2 separate regions of the Homo sapiens genome follow, and region 1 is linked to region 2. Evidence: promoter capture Hi-C in 16 types of primary human blood cells and fetal thymus (Javierre and others, 2016). All regions are on one chromosome and are shown on one strand. The core of a region is centred on a gene start or on the middle of the fragment in contact, and the rest is flanking DNA. Distances in the headings are between cores, read along the strand shown.

The links. The method cuts DNA at HindIII sites, captures the fragments that hold promoters and counts their contacts. A CHiCAGO score of 5 or more calls a contact.
Region 1: a fragment that was not itself captured here is called in contact with the fragment with the promoter of KRABD3 in region 2 in 1 of 17 cell types (neutrophils); the score reaches 5.0 in neutrophils.

Annotation. Positions count from the first base shown.
Region 1 is chr7:149,795,679-149,798,532 of GRCh38, forward strand. It overlaps the pseudogene SSPOP. Among named protein-coding and RNA genes, the nearest start is that of ZNF467, 24 kb to the left of the region's middle. The HindIII fragment of the contact is 8,655 bases long and covers 1-2,854 here.
Region 2 is chr7:149,713,551-149,716,250 of GRCh38, forward strand. KRABD3 (KRAB domain containing 3) reads left to right here and starts at 1,401. Exons shown (of 17, transcript NM_001290187.2): 1 at 1,401-1,516. The coding sequence starts at 1,505. RefSeq lists silencers at 1-222, 1,049-1,488 and enhancers at 554-1,053, 1,691-2,323. The HindIII fragment of the contact is 2,289 bases long and covers 517-2,700 here.

The DNA.
Region 1 (2,854 bases), core at 197-2,696, 82 kb after region 2:
CAAGGCCGATGGGGCCAGCAGCCCACCATGCCCTTTTGTGGGTTCCATAGTCTTTGTCCCCAAGGGCCTTCCAGTGTCCCCGAGGGGCATGGCCTGCATTCGATGCTTGTTGAATACCTGGTGAGTAGCAGGGACTGTGCTCTGTGGAGCCGAGGCTTGGGTGCCACTGTCACATGGATGCTGGAAACCATCCAAGTGGCTCAGACTCAGGGCAGGTATGTGAAGCCTGCAAGGGAGAGAGGATGGGGAGACACCAAGTTCACTGAGGGCCTCCGGGAGCCCAGACCCACGCACGTCTTCGTGGAGAGCAGCCTGGGCACAGCCCTGCCCTCAGGGGGTTTGCATCCTTCCCGGAGACAAACCGCACGAAGCGGTAGGAATCAGTCCGTGCTGTGTTAAGTCTTAACTGTTTCAGGAGCACCTGCTCTGTGCCAGGTGCCGAGCCAGGCCCTGGGGACACAGCAGTGAACAGGACCTGGCCTTTGCCCTAGGGGCACCTCCAGCTTAGCGAGAGGAGCTCAGTCCAGGACCAGCCCCCTCCAGCCTTGAGAGGCCCAAATGCCTACTGCCAGGGTGGGGGGCATGGCTCTGGGAGGGGCCGTGAAAACTGGGGAAAAAGTGGGGTCACTCAAAGTCATGAGGTCAGCCTGAAAAAGAGGTGAAGCTCAGTCATCCGCATCCTCTGCTGGCAGCTTTTCCCCAGAAACTGGGATGACCTGGACCCTGCCGTATGGACTTTCGGCCGCATGGTGCAGGCGAGGTTTGTCAGGGTGTGGCCCCACGATGTCCACCACAGCGATGTCCCCCTGCAGGTGGAGCTGCTGGGCTGCGAGCCAGGTACAGGTTGCGCAGGGGTGGGCAGGGCAGGAGAGAGAGGGGCCATGGGAGGAGCCCTCAGCCATACGTCCTCCACACAGGGTCCCCACCGGCACCTCTGTGCCCAGGGGTTGGACTCCGCTGTGCCAGTGGTGAGTGTGTCCTGAGAGGGGGCCCTTGTGACGGTGTTCTGGACTGCGAGGATGGCTCGGATGAGGAGGGCTGTGTGTTGCTGCCTGAGGGCACTGGCAGGTATACTGTGGCCGGCCGTGCAGCTCACGCCCTTGGCCTGGCCTTTGAGGGGACAGCCATGTGGGAGGGGCCCGGCACTGCCTTCACCCCCAAGGTGCCCAGACCCTGCATGCTGAGGAGCTGCAGCCGGGTGCCTTCAAGGCCCTTTCCCACCTGGATTCTAGGATTCCCTGCCTTTCTCATAGTTGAGTCAGGGGTTCTCCAGGTGTGGGCCCTGGACCAGCAGCATCGGCAGCACCTGGAGCTTGTTAGAAGGGCAGGTTCTCGGGCCCGCCCAGACCTGCAGGGGTGGGGTGCAGCAATGTGTGTCTTACAAGCCCCTCAGGTGATTCTAACCCATGGTCAAGTTGGGAGCTACTGTTGGGAACATCGCCTTTGTCCAGCCTCAGTGGGCAGAGTCCTTCCTGAATGCTCACTCCCGCAAAGACCCCAGGCCCAGCAAAAGCACACTGACGCCCCTGCCTGGAAGGGGGGCACTGGTGCTGGGAGGGCCCCTGGAGTCCTTTTGGCTATTTTTCTCCCCAGATTCCATTCCACAGCCAAGACCCTGGCCCTCTCCTCTGCCCAGCCGGGGCAGCTGCTGCACTGGCCCAGGGAGGTGAGTGTAGAGCCTTGGGCCCAGAGGGTGGAGTGGGGGGACGGGGACCTCGCCTCACAGCCTCACCAGCCCTGCTCCTGCACCAGCTGGCGGCGTCTCCCCTCTCCGCAGCATTTCCTCCTGTGTGTTCCCTGGTACTGCTCTCAGGAGCCTTGCCGGTGCCTGGCTGCAGAGACGTGCAGGCAGAGCGAGGGCCCAGAGGGGTTTGGGGACAAGAGAAGCCTGCACCCCTGATAGGGAGCTTATGCCCACGGGGCAGGCACCAGGGCATCTGGTGCTCAGAGCCGAAAAGAGCCCTGTGCCCGGGTCCCCAGGGGCTTCCCGGACAAGACTTGAGGGCTGGAGAGGGGTGTCTATAGTGTGGAGAAGGCGCGGAGCACCTTCCCACCTGGAATGGCCTGGTCAGCAACCCAGAGTGTGTGGGTGGGGTAGGGGGTAGGGGGTGGACATGTGCATTGGGTGGGGGAAGGGGAGTTTGAGGGGCAAGAGCTGAAATGGATCACCCTGGTGGGCTGCTGAGAATAAGGTCCCTGAGCTCCTTGAGGGCAGTGGGCTGGTGCCTGGAAGCGCAGTTGCGTGCTCAGCTCTGCCCTGGGCTGCGGGGGAGGAAGATGGACAGGAAGCAGTGCTGGGACTGTGAGCGCCCAGGCTGTATCCTCAGGGGATGGGAGCTGCCCTCAGGGCCGGGGGCTGTGCAGGGTGCTGAGCCCTCTCCCTCTGCAGGGCCTGGCAGAGACTGAGCACTGGCCCCCTGGGCAGGAATCCCCCACGTCCCCGACAGGTGTGTGCACAGACTCCAGGCCTCCTCCCCAAACTCTTGTCCCACCTGTTCTTCCAGAGCCAGGGGCCGTTACATCTCAGGGGTTCAAATCCCATGACCCCTGACTTCCCCACAACCAAGAGAGTCACGGGGTTGGCTCAGGGAGGAGACACTGGTCACTTTGGACATGGCCAGGTCCTGCCCCTGCCCACCCCCTGGGATTCCAAGGTATGTGGCTGTAGGTTGGCGGGGCAGGTAGCTCCAGGCCAGCTCCCAGGACTGAGCCTGTGCCCTGTAATGTGGCTGCCTCTCCAGATGCCTGGTCAGGACAGGTCTCCCCCATGGGGGTGGGAGGCCACTTGGCTCCAGCCTGCACTCTCTCTGCTCACCATCCATGGAGCCAGGCCCCCCTTTCTGAAGCGTTTGCT
Region 2 (2,700 bases), core at 151-2,650:
CGGAGGGTGGGCGGTGGAGAGGAGCTGGGAGCAGGAACACATTACTGTAAGGAGCCCGCCTCACCTCGGCACGGAGGTGGGACCCGGCCTAAAGCCCAGGAGGCGACTTACCCTGAGGGCTGTGGCCTGTAGGGCTCTTGAAAAGTTGGACTTTTAAGTTTTCCCTTTCCGCGAGGTGGGGCCTTGTGATATCTTCAAATCCTTGTTCAGCAGGCTGCGCACACGCCGGTCCTGTGTCTAAGGTGTCTCGGGTATGACCGAGGGGGCTTTGCCCGAGTGGGCGTGCGCCTTTCCTCGGAGGCCGGGACGAGGGGTTGTCGGCATCGTACCCGAGTCCGTGATCATGGCCGGCGCGGCTGCAAGGGCCAGCCCCGGGCGACTGGGCGAGGAATTCCCTTTCCTTCCCTCCGATATTGCCCAGGCAGAGCGCTGTCTGGGCCGCAAGGTCTGGACGGGGCTTCCAAACTCAGAGCAGAGTCTCCTCTGCGTGGGACCACAGCCTCCCCTTCCCCTCCAAGCTTCTGTCTGGCACAGCAGGCTTAGCCCCGCAGGCCCCCTTCCAGCAGCCTTCTATAAAAATGACGGGGTCCTTCTCCAGACAGGAAAACCAGGCTCGCTGCGCCTCGCCCGCACCCCCGGAGCGCTCTCGCAGCGCCCGCCCAGACCAGGCCTTCGAACTCGTGAAGCGCAGGGGGAGGCAGAGGAGAGTGGGCCGCGCTTCCTTCCCGCATCACACGTTTATTTGAGGCCTACTATGTGCCAGGAACAACTGGGGTTACCACCCCAGCAAACAGGCACGCAAAATGTGACACGAAGGTAGGTCATGGCTGCGGCGAGCGGGGGCGCGGGCGAAAGACGTGAGGATGTACGGGGGCCTGGCAGCTGCTCTGTCCCACCCACGCCCGGCCGGACCCTCGACCCCTTTCACTCCAGGTCGGGTTTCCCCGACCGCGGCCTCTGGGAAAGATGGGTCCCTCTTCATCCCCACCATCAGCCCCTGGCACATGGGACGCGCTGAGTGGTGGCTGCGGGAATGAATGAGTGATAAGCGGCGCGTACCCGCGGGCTTGCACGCCCACAGCCGCCCCGGCTGGTCTCGGCGCGCAACCTCTACCCGCAGCTGGGGGCGGGGACGAGGGGAGGGGGCGGGGACGAGGCCCGAGCCAGGTCCGCCCCGCCCTGTCTCCGCCCCCCGCTTCCGAGCCGGCGCCGCGGCGCCTTCTGGGAAGTGTAGTCCGCGTCTGCGCCGGCCGGCCGGGCCGCCGAAGCCGGGGGCTCCGGGCGGAAACGGCACCACCCACCAAGGGATGCGAGGCGCTCGGGGCGGGCTCAACGAGGCCGGGGGCGGGCCCGGGCGCGCCCACCCCCGCCCCTCCCCCTCGGCCCAGGCCCCCGGCCCCGCCTTCTCCTGCGCGGACCTGGGCCGCCGCCGACGAGGGTCGCGTGCGCCCGCGCCAGGGCCCGCGCCGGAAACCGAGGAGTGGCGGGGAGGCTGAGCCCGGGGATGGCGCGCCAGGTAAGGCAGGCGGACGCGCGGACCCCTCGGCGCAGTGCGGCCCCGAAGGCGGTAGGGCGAGAAAGAGCTGGGACCCCCCCGCAACTTCGGGATCGGCTGGGTGAGGCTGGGCAGGCCTGATGCTCAGGGGTTCGTGCCGGGAAGTTCAGGTCCTCGGACAACCTCTCTCCAGCTCTCCGCCGCCGGTACCCACGGCCCAGTCTCCACCTGGGGAAACCCCCTTGGCGTGGCTTGTTTCGTTACAAGTTATCCTGGTAGAGTGGGCATGAAGGCCTCGGAGGCAGTGAGTAAATCTCATACTTCTGTTCTTGGTGGAATCCTGGATCCCGGGGGCTGGGGACGTGGAAATGGGGAGAAACAAAGATAGAACAAACCCCAAGTTTTGTCTTGGGAAGCCTGCAGGTAAGGCGTTTAGATCTGAGAACTGGAGGGAGAGCCCCAGGCCGTGACAGCCTGGGCACCGTTTGGGCTAGGTTGTGTGTGGGCTGTGACGATGCTGGGAAACTCTGGTGCTGATATCAGTGAGGTATCAGGTATCTGGTGCTGATACCAGCAACTGCTCCACGTTCTTCTGGATGGGCACCTGGAGCCAGTTCTGCAACCGTGGTGGCTCCTGAGCTTTGGCCAGTCCGAGGCAGCCATGGATGGGGGGCAGCGTGTGACTAGGCAGAGCAAACACTGTGCCAGGCCCTTGGCGTCATTAGTGCCCCCAAGCATTTGGGGAGAAGGGAGAGGCTAGGCAAATTGGATGTTGTTGGGCAGGGACAGTCAAGTGTCCTTTTCAGGTCTGGCTGCACAGTTAAGTAGCCTAGGGACACCCTGGTTCAGACATGCCCATGGCCCCATCCTAAGGCCTCCTCATACCACAGTTTCCTGTTCTGTAAAGTGAGGAGTTTGGGCCATTGACCTTTCAGATCTGATGAGGGGAATATCCTCACACTACGTAGCTTCATGGAGAAGGTGGCCAGGAGTGACCTTGGGGAGTGGTAGGTCACTGTAAGGTGGAGAGGAGCAGGGAGGGTTCCCAGAAGCCCAGGGCAATGTGAGCACAGCCTCCAGGTTGAGAGGTCCTGTGGCAGGGTCTGATCAGGGAGCCCGAGCCTGAGGCCCACTGGGAGAGCAGGTCTAGGTTGGGAAGGACTGTGAGAGAGGGGCAGGTCCAGCAGGCACTGAAGCTGCAGTTT